Regions from separate parts of the Homo sapiens genome. Here region 2 is linked to region 1. The links are contacts of gene promoters, found by promoter capture Hi-C in human tissues and cell types (Jung and others, 2019). All regions are on one chromosome and are shown on one strand. Each heading gives the region's core, a stretch centred on a gene start or on the middle of the fragment in contact. The rest is flanking DNA. Distances are from core to core; before and after follow the strand shown.

Region 1 (4,760 bases), core at 1-2,500:
TTCAGCTTACAGAGCACCCTGTATGTGTTTGTCTTAGTTCAGGCCACCATCTCCACCTTACCAGGCATCTAGAACCTTCTCCACACTTTGCCAACAGGGTTCGTTTGCAGAATTGAAATCTTAGTTAAGGTTTGTTGAAGTTTGTTGTTGTTTTTTTTTTTTTTTTACAATTGGCTGTTCCCACCCACATTCCCTTGAGACATAAATAGAAAAAAAAAAAAAAAGAGGTTTCATGAGTAAGACAAGACATTTGAGCTGCATCCACTTGATCCTTGAAAAGGAAATCTAAGAGGTTGTAACTATCACTTTTTCTAGCCTATATAAGGTAGGTCAGTAAGGTAGCAAAAACACATCTGTTGTTTTGCTCCTTCAACTCTTTTTCCTGATTCTTCCTGGGGGGAAACCGAAAACGGTGAGTAACTGGTGGACACATCAGACCCCAGACTCTTTTCTTCACTGCATGCATTCATATTAGGCTCAGGTGCTTAGACTCCTGTTTTCCGGTGGCTCTGACACCTGGAAGGATTTTAATCTCTGGGAGATGGGCTTTTCATCCATCTGCTTCCCACCTTTCAGGACAGGTGCATGCCTTCTTCCACAGAATGTCTGCAAGCAGCCCAAACTGTATCCTTTCCCACGTGGAATTTGCAACATTGCATCTCTCGGGCTGCTGTAGGAAAATGCCAGTGCATGTGTAACATGGTTTACGGCTGCCTATGCAAATGACTGATTATGTCAGTATAATTTTTATAAGAAAACAATTGAATCCTTCTTTGGGTCATTTTTTTTTTCCATTTTTGGCATGTATTCAAAAGAAGGCTCTGAGACAAAAAAGGCTGGGGTGTTTTCCGTATCTGGTTTTAATTTGGATATTCTGTCCCGTCACTTAATACAAAACCATGCTTATCACATTTTAAAAATTCTAGACAGGCCTGGCTCGGTGGCTTGCATCTGTCATCCCAGCACTTTGTGAGGCCAAGGCAGGCAGATCACCTGAGGTCAGGAGCTCAAGACCAGCCTGGCCAACATGGCAAAACCCCGTCTCTACTAAAAACACAAAAATTAGCCAGGCATGGTAGTGCGCACCTGTAATCCCAGCTACTGGGAAGGCTTAGGCAGGAGAATCACTTGAGCCCAGGAGGCGGAGGTTGCGGTGAGCCGAGATCACGCTCTTGCACTCCAGCCTGGGTGACAGAGTGAGACTCCGTCTTAATTTAAAAAAAAAAATAATCTAGACACACATACAGTTTCAGTGGGCCTGGGAAGATGTGTTTCCCCTGGATGTGCACATTCCTGTTTGTGGCTTATCGCCTCTCATTTATTCTGTGTGAGTAGGTAGAAAATGAGCATCACGGACGTGCTCAGTGCTGACGACATTGCAGCAGCGCTCCAGGAATGCCGAGGTAGAGGGGACGTGAGGCGGGGGTGGGATTTCCTCACAGCTTTGCACCTCCAGCGAGTCAACACAAAATCAAAATGTAGGCCAGGCGGCCAGACGCAGTGGCTCACACCTGTAATCCCAGCACTTTGGGAGGCCGAGGCGGGTGGATCACGAGGTCAGGAGTTCGAGACCAGCCTGGCCAAGATGGTGAAACCCCATCTCTACTAAAAATACAAAAAAATTAACCGGGCGTGGTGGTGGGTGCCTGTAATCCCAGCTACTCGGGAGGCTGAGGCAGAGAATTGCTTGAACCCGGGAGGCAGAAGTTGCAGTGAGCTGAGATCATGCCACTGCACTCCAGCCTGGGCAACAGAGCAAGACTCTGTCTACAAAAAAAAAAAAAAAAAGTAGACCAGGCATGGTGGCTCACATCTGTAATCCCAACACTTTTTGGAGGCCAAGGTGAGAGGACTGTTTGAGCCCAGGAGTTTGAGACCAGCCTGGGCAACATAGGAAGACTCCATCTCTACAACATAACAATAAAAATAAAAACTAGCGGGGCATGGTGGCATGTGCCTGTGGTCCCAGCTACTCTGGAAACTAAGGTAGGAGGATCACTGAAGCCCAGGAGGTTGAGGCTGTGGTGAGCTATGATCGCTACACTGCACTCCAGCTTGGACGACAGAGTGAGACTCTGGCTCTAAATAAATAAATAAATAAATAAATAAGAGGTTGGCTGGAAAATTCATGGAATCAGAGAAGAAAACTGCTATTTATTAGATAACTAAAATTATAGAGATCTGGGATCTGAGCACACGATTACACATCTGTAAGACAAAAGAAACCTACTAAACATGAAAGCAAGACATCACTGAAAGGCCAGGTGTCGTGCTCACACCTGTAATCCCAACACTTTGGGAGGCCGAGGCCGGTGCATCACTTGAGGTCAGGAGTTCAAGACCAACCTGGCCAGCATGGCAAAACCCTGTCTCTATTAAAAATACAAAAATGAGCTGGGCATGGGGGTGCACACCTGTAATCTCAGCTACTTGGGAGGCTGAAGCAGGAGAATCAGTTGAACCCGGGAGGCAGAGGTTGCAGTGAGCCGAGATCACGCCACTGCACTCCAGCCTGGTGACAGAGTGAGACTCTGTCTCAAAAAAAAAAAAAAAAAAAAAAAAAAAAAAAAAAGCGCCAAAGGCCATTTAGCCTGTTGAAATCCAGTGATTGCATTTCCCCCTACCAATTAGACCAGGGATGCTGGGGGCTCAGCCACACAGCCTGTAAAGTGGGCCAGGGGGAGGGGGAGGCACAGAAGAGATGAGGAGGGAAAAGGAAAATGGACAAAACCAAGTGGAGGAGGGAAGACTGGGGCGGAGGGGACATGGGATGCCATCACAGAGCCATCAAGTCTTGGCTGTCCCAAAATCTTGGACCAGTTGAGCATCCCCGTAGCTCAGGGATATTGTTGAAGTGTTTTTAATTATCTGTGTTTTTAGTACCTTGGCCCCAACATAGAATGTGATCCAACAAGCGTCAGAATAACCAATTCTCTGTTCTTCAGACCCAGACACTTTTGAACCCCAAAAATTCTTCCAGACATCAGGCCTCTCCAAGATGTCAGCCAATCAGGTGAAGGATGTTTTCCGGTTCATAGACAACGACCAGAGCGGGTACCTGGATGAAGAAGAGCTTAAGTAAGCTTTGTCCTGAGTCTGTCTGGTACCCGGCACTGCTGAGTGGGCCTGGGGTGCAGTGGGGGCCAGGTTGCTCAGTATTTCTTCAATGGCCAGCCTTGGTGTTGGTCATTCGGCCAAGCATCATTAAAGCAAAGGACATGAGTCAGTTGACCGCACATCTACCCATGCAAAGCCCTCAATATGGGCAGAGAAGACTGCAGGTGCAAAGATTCTTTTTTTTTTTTTTTTTTTTGAGACAGGGCCTCACTCTGTTGCCCAGGCTGGAGTGCAGTGGGGTGATCTCAGCTCCCTGCAGCCTCCGCCTTCCAAATTCAAGTGATTCTCATGCCTCAGTCTCCCAAGTGGCTGGGATTACAGGTGCCTGCCACCACATCCAGCTCATTTTCATATTTAGAGTAGAGATGGGGCTTCACTATGTTGCCAGGCTGGTCTCAAACTCCTGACTTCAAGTGATCCTCCTGCCTTGGCCTCCCAAAGTGCTGGGATTACAGGTGTGAGTCACTGTGCCCAGCCACAAAGATTCTTTCATGTAAGGGATTTCCTTTGGCAAATGGACTTTAAAAAACTAAAAACTTGGCTAAGCGCAGTGGCTCACGCCTGTAATTCCAGCTACTCAGAAGACTGAAGCACAAGAATTGCTTGAAGTCAGGAGGCAGAGGTTGCAGTGAGCCCAGATCGTGCAGCTGCACTCCAGCCTGGGTGACAGAGAGAGACTCTGTCTCAAATAAATAAATAAATAAAAATTAAAAACACTAAAAACTTAAAAATGGGCCAGGCACTGTGGCTCACACCTACAATCCCAGCCCTTTGGGAGGCTGAGGTGGGTGGATTGCTTGAGTGAGCCCAGGGGTTCCAGACCAGTCTGGGGAACATGACAAAACCTTGTCTCTACAAAAAAAAATACAAATGTTAGTGGGGCATGGTGGGGTGCACCTGTAGTCCCAGCTACTCAGGAGGTTGAGGCAGGAGGATTGATTGAGCCCAGGAAGTCGAGGCTGCAGTGAGCCATGATGGTATCACTGCATTCCAGCCTGGGTGACAGAGCAAGACCCTGTCTCAAAAACAAACAAACAAACAAAACCTTAAAAATGAAGTGCCCACCATTGGTTTCTACAGCTTAAGGAAACCTTTGCTTGCTAAGACCTTGGTTAATTATTGCCGGTGCTGGAAACAGGTGATATGCTTAGAGGAAAAACAAAAGTGTAAACACAGAGATGCATGATCTTTTTGAAAATCCCCATGGATCTTTATTATCCTGTAGGTTTTTCCTCCAGAAGTTTGAGAGTGGTGCCAGAGAACTGACCGAGTCAGAAACCAAGTCCTTGATGGCTGCGGCGGATAATGATGGAGATGGGAAAATTGGAGCAGAGGGTATGTCCACACGTGTACGTAGCATAAAACACTCTAGCTCAGGAAGCATCCGTGAGGGCTTGGGCTGTGAGATCAAACCAATGTGGCTTAAAATCTCCCTTTCTTAAACTTACCGAGCCTCAGTCTTCTCATCTGTAAAATGGGACTAAAGTAAGGATGCAAATGATGTGTGTAAAAACCCTGGCATAATGCTCGGTAGGTACTATAGAAGCTGGTCACACTGGTCATTGTCTATGAGCTGCAAAATATCCTTCACCTGACTAGGGGACTAGCTAGCCACCTGGCCAATTATTTGCACCTGCCAACCA
Region 2 (5,342 bases), core at 2,780-5,279, 78 kb before region 1:
AAAGTGCTGGGATTACAGGTGTGAGCCACCATGCCTGGCCAAAAAAATTTTTTTATAATAAATAGGAAGCGTGTGGTAGCTCATGGCTGTAATCCCAGTACTTTGGGAGGCTGAGGCAAGAGGATCACTTTAGGCCAGGAGTTTGAGACCAGCCTGGGCAACACAGTGAGATCCTCATTCTCTACAAAAAAAAAAAAAAAAAAAAAAAAAAAAAAGCCAGGCATGATGGTGTGCACTTGTCCCAGCTACTAGGGAGGCTGAGGTGAGAAGATGCTTTGCACCCAGGAGTTCAGGGCTATAGTGAGCTATGATCATACCAGGTGGCAGAACCAGACCCTGTCTCTGAAATAAAAATAAAATAAGACCAAAGTGTGTTTTCTACTCTCACACCACTCTATACTTAACACAAAGCAATTTTTGTGGTTTTTTTTTGAGACGGAGTCTTGCTCTGTCGCCCAGGCTGGAGTGCAGAGGTGTGATCTCGGTTCACTGCAACCAACCTCCTGGGCTCCAGCGATTCTCCTGCCTCAGCCTCCCAAGTAGCTGGGATTACAGGCACCTGCTACCACGCCTGGCTAATTTTTGTATTTTTAGTAGAGACGGGGTTTTGCTATGTTGGCCAGGTTTGTCTTGAACTCCTGGCCTCAAGTAATCCGCCCGCCTCAGCCTCCCAACGTGCTGGGATTATAGGCGTGAGCCACCATGGCCGGCCTGTTTACCAGTTTACTATAAGGGGCATTACGAAAAATGCAGAGGAATGGCCAGATGCCGAGGCCGAAGGGGCAAGTTTTGTGGGAAGGGGTGGAGCTTCCATGCCCTCTCTGGGTACACCACCCTCCCGGCATCTCCACATGTTCAGCATTGAAGCTCTCCGAGTGCTGTCCTTTTGTTTTGTTTTGTTTTTTTGAGACAGAGTCTTGCTGTGTCGCCCAGGCTGGAGTGCTGTGCTGTGATCTTGACCCACTGCAACTTCTGCCTCCCAGGTTCTAGCTTTTCTCCTGCCTCAGCCTCCCAAGTAGCTGAGATTACAGGTACCCGCCACCGCATCCTACCTAATTCTTGTACTTTTAGTAGAGATGGGGTTTTATCATGTTGCCAGGCTGGTCCTGAACTCCTGACCTCAGGTGGTCTGCGCCCCCCCTTGGCTTCGTAAAGTGCTGGGATTACAGGTGTGAGCCATTGCGCCCGCCAACTCCACATTTTTAAACAAAGCTTCTCTTCCTTAACCAATTAGAAAAAAAAAAAATCTTTGAATCTACCTATGACCTGTAAGCCCCCACTTTAAGATACCCCACCTTTTAGGGCCAAACCAACGTATAGCCTCCATACTGATTTATGACTTTGCCGTAACCTCTGCCTCCTTATCTTCTGTTTTTTTTTTTTTTTTTTTTTTGAGACAGAGTTTTACTCTATCACCCAGACTGGAGTGCGGTGGCGTGATCTCGGCTCACTGCAAGCTCCGCCTCCTGGATTCACGCTATTCTCCTGCCTCAGCCTCCCGAGTAGCTGGTACTACAGGCGCACGCCACCATGCCTGGCTAATTTTTTGTATTTTTTTTTTTTTTAAGTAGATACGGGGTTTCACTGTGGTCTTGATCTCCTGACCTTGTGATCCACCCGCCTCGAGTGCTGGGATTACAGGCGTGAGCCACTGCGCCCTGCCTCTGCCTCCTTACCTTTAAAGACGCCTACCTGCAAGCCAGCAGGGAGTTCTGGATGTAAACATGAGCTGCTCGACTCTCCTTGCGTGGCGCCCTGCAAATAAATGCCCTCTTTTTTCTCACTGCAAACCTTGGTGTGGGTGGTTGGCCTCACTGTGCCAGGCATCTGGACCCCATGAAAGTCGGTCCTTGTTTCCTCTCATTGATTTTTTTTTTTTTTTTTTGGGGGATGGGGTCTCACTCTCTTCTCCCAGCTGCTGGAGTGCAGTGGCACAATCTGCCCACTGCAGCCTCCACTTCCTGGACTCAGGTGATTGTCCCACTTCAGCCTCCCGAGTAGCTGAGACCACATGCATGTGCCACCACGCCTGGCTAATTTTTTGTATTTTTAGTGCAGGCAGGGGTCTTGCTATGTTTTCCAGGCTGGTCTCAAACCCCTGAGCTCAAGCGGTCCGCTCGCCTCGGCCTCCTAAAGTGATGGAGATACAGGTGTGTGCCACCGTACCAGGCCCAAGATGTTATCTTTAATTTCTATAGAGAACTAAATATCTGGTGACTGTAACTCCCTTGGCTATTGGTTTTAAGCTCCTTTTTTTTTTTTTTTTTTTTTTTTTTTGGAGACAGAGTTTCGCTCTTGTTGCTCAGGCTGGAGTGTAGTGGCGTGATCTCAGCTCACGGCAACCTCCGGCTCCTGGGGTCAAGCGATTCTCCTGCCTCAGCCTCCTGAGTAGCTGGGATTACAGGTGCATGCCACCACGCCCAGCTAATTTTTGTAGTTTTGTTTTGTTTTGTTTTTGAGATAGAGTAGTTTTTTTGCCAGGCTGGAGTGCAGTGGCGCCGTCTCGGCTCAGTGCAACCTCCACCTCCCGGGTTCAAGTGATTCTCCCTCCTTAGCCTCCCAAGTAGCTGGGACTACAGTGTGTGCTACCACGCCCAGCTAATTTTTGTATTTTTAGTAGAGATGGGGTTTCACCATGTTGGCCAGGATGGTCTTGATTTCGTGACCTTGTGATCCGCCTGCTTTGGCCTCCCAACGTAGTTTTTAGTAGAGATGGGGTTTTACCATGTTGGCCATGCTGATCTTGAACTCCTGACCTCAGGTGAGCTGTCTGCCGCAGCCACCCAAAGTACTGGGATTACAGCCATGAGTCACCGTGCCCGGTGGATTAAGGCTCTCATACGCATCTTGAGATCGGTTCCTTCTGGCTCTTTCATCCCCTCACAACCCTGTAGTTGCTTCTCTTGTAGTTACCCGCCATGATCCAATGCTATGTAATCGAATCCATGCTCAACACTTTGCTATAAGTGCTAGGCTCTCTCCTGTTGGAAATAAATAATTTCCTTTTTTTTTTTTTTTTTGGAGATGGAGTTTCGCTCTTGTTGCCCAGGCTGGAGTGCAATGATGCGATCTTGGCTCACTGCAACCTCTGCCTCCCGGGTTCAAGCGATTCTCGTGCCTCAGCCTCCCAGGTAGCTGGGATTACAGGTGCCCACCACCATGCCCGGCTAATTTTTTTGTATGTTTTTAGTAGAGACGGGGTTTTGCCATGTTGGCCAGGCCGGTCTTGAACTCCTGACCTCTGGTGATCCGCCCGCCTCCACCTCCCAAAGTACTGGGCTTACAAGTGTGAGCCACCACGCCTGGCCGGAAAGAAATATTTTCTGAGATTTATAAGCTTTTTTAAAAAATTAAGGGCTGGGCACAGTGGTTCACACTTGTAAGTGCAGCACTTTGGGAGGCTAAGGCAGGAGGATTGATTGAGGTCAGGAGTTGGAGGCTACAGTGAGCTATGATTGCACCACTGCACTCTAGCCTGGGAGACAGAGTGAGACCCTGACTCAAACAGTAATTAAATCAATAAAATTTAGAAGTTAAGATTCTTCAGCCTCTTTTGGGCTGGGCATGGTCGCTCAAGCTTGTAATCCCAGCACTCTGGGAGGCTGTGGCAGGCTGATCACTTGAGGCCAGGAGTTTGAGACCAACCTGGCCAACATTGTGAAACCCCATCTCTACTAAAAATACAGAAATTAGCCGGTGTGGTGATGCATGCCTGTAATCCCAGCTGTTCAGGAGGCTGAGACAGGAGAATTGCTTGAACTCGGGAGGTGGAGGTTGCAGTGAGCTGAGAGCATGTCACTCTATTCCAGCCCGGGCGACAGAACTAGACTCCATCTCAAAAAAAAAAAAAAAAAGATTCTTCAGTCTCTTTTGATCTTCCTGTGCCCACTTTATGGTGCCCGGAGCTGCTGATGTTCAGATTTGCCATGGGCGGTGCTCCCCTACATCTGAAGATGCAAAGATCTCTCTTCTTCCTTGTCACCTAATCCTGCTGGCCTTCTCAGGCTCATCTGCAGAAGACCCCACTCAAAAGTAGGGTCTGGCCAGCTGCGGTGGCTCACGCTTGTAATCCCAGCACTTTGGGAGGCTGAGGCAGGTGGGATCACCTGAGGTCAGGAGTTCAAGAACAGCCTGACCAATGTGGCGAAACCCTGTCTCTACTAAAAAATATCAAAATTAGCCAGGCGTAGTGGTGGGCGCCTATAACCCCATCTACTCGGGAGGCTGAGGCTGGAGAATAGCTTGAACCTGGGGGTTGAAGGTTGCAGTGAGTCAAGATGATGCCACTGCACTCCAGTCTGGGTGAAAGAGCAAAACTCCATCTCAAAAAAAAAAAAAAAAAAGGGGGGGTCTTCTTCAGAAGATATGTTTGCATGATTTCCATGAGGAAGGCATGTGCTCTGTCCCTTTCTTCCCAATGCTCACTGCGTCTTTTTTTTTTTAATATATGTTTGCATGATTTCCATGAGGAAGGCATGTGCTCTGTCCCTTTCTTCCCAATGCTCACTGTGTCTTTTTTTTTTTAATATATGTTTGCATGATTTCCATGAGGAAGGCATGTGCTCTGTCCCTTTCTTCCCAATGCTCACTGTGTCTTTTTTTTTTAATATATGTTTGCATGATTTCCATGAGGAAGGCATGTGCTCTGTCCCTTTCTTCCCAATGCTCACTGCGTCTTTTTTTTTTTAATAGACTTGACTTTTTTAGGCCAGTTTTAGATTCGTAGCAACATTGAGCGAAAGGTACAGAGAGTTCTCACATGTTCCCTGCCCGTGCTAATAGCCTCTCCCATTATCATCTTCCACCAAAGTGGTACATTTGTTACAATCAGGGAACCTATATTGACATCATTTTCACCCAAAGTCCACAGTTTGCATTAGGGTCCCTCTTGGTGTGGTGCATGTCATGGGCTTGGATAAATGTGTCAGAACATGCATCCACTCTTAGAGCTCTCTCAGAGGCGTTTCCCTGCCCGAAAAATCCTCCGTGCTCTGCCTCTTCATGCATCCCTCCCTTCATGCATCCGTCCCAGGGACAAAAGGTTGTCCCTGGCAACCTTTTGTTTCCAGACCCTAGCAACGGATCCTTTTACTGTCTCCATAGTTGGGCCTTTTCTGAATGTAATATAGTTGGAATCATACAGCATTAATTTTTTTTTTCCACTGAGACAGTCTCGCTCTGTCACCCAGGCTGGAGAGCAGTGGTGCCATCATAGCTCACTGCAGCCCTAACGTCCTGGGCTCAATTGATCCTCCCGCCTCAGCCTTCTGAGGAGCTGGGACTATGGGTATGCGTCACCACGCCCAGCCAAGTGTCCTGGATTTTTTTTTTTTTTGAGACGA

What was found. Contacts are between HindIII fragments. The study calls those that stand out against the background at their distance.
Region 2: a contact is called between a fragment that was not itself captured here and the fragment with the promoter of OCM in region 1, in 2 of the 25 tissues and cell types used here (IMR-90 fibroblasts and stomach).

Annotation. Positions count from the first base shown.
Region 1 is chr7:5,879,548-5,884,307 of GRCh38, forward strand. OCM (oncomodulin) reads left to right here and starts at 1,251. Exons shown (of 4, transcript NM_001097622.2): 1 at 1,251-1,403; 2 at 2,946-3,078; 3 at 4,343-4,452. The coding sequence starts at 1,343. The HindIII fragment of the contact is 18,194 bases long and covers 1-4,352 here.
Region 2 is chr7:5,798,838-5,804,179 of GRCh38, forward strand. No RefSeq gene overlaps it. Among named protein-coding and RNA genes, the nearest start is that of RNF216, 20 kb to the left of the region's middle. The HindIII fragment of the contact is 3,511 bases long and covers 2,275-5,342 here.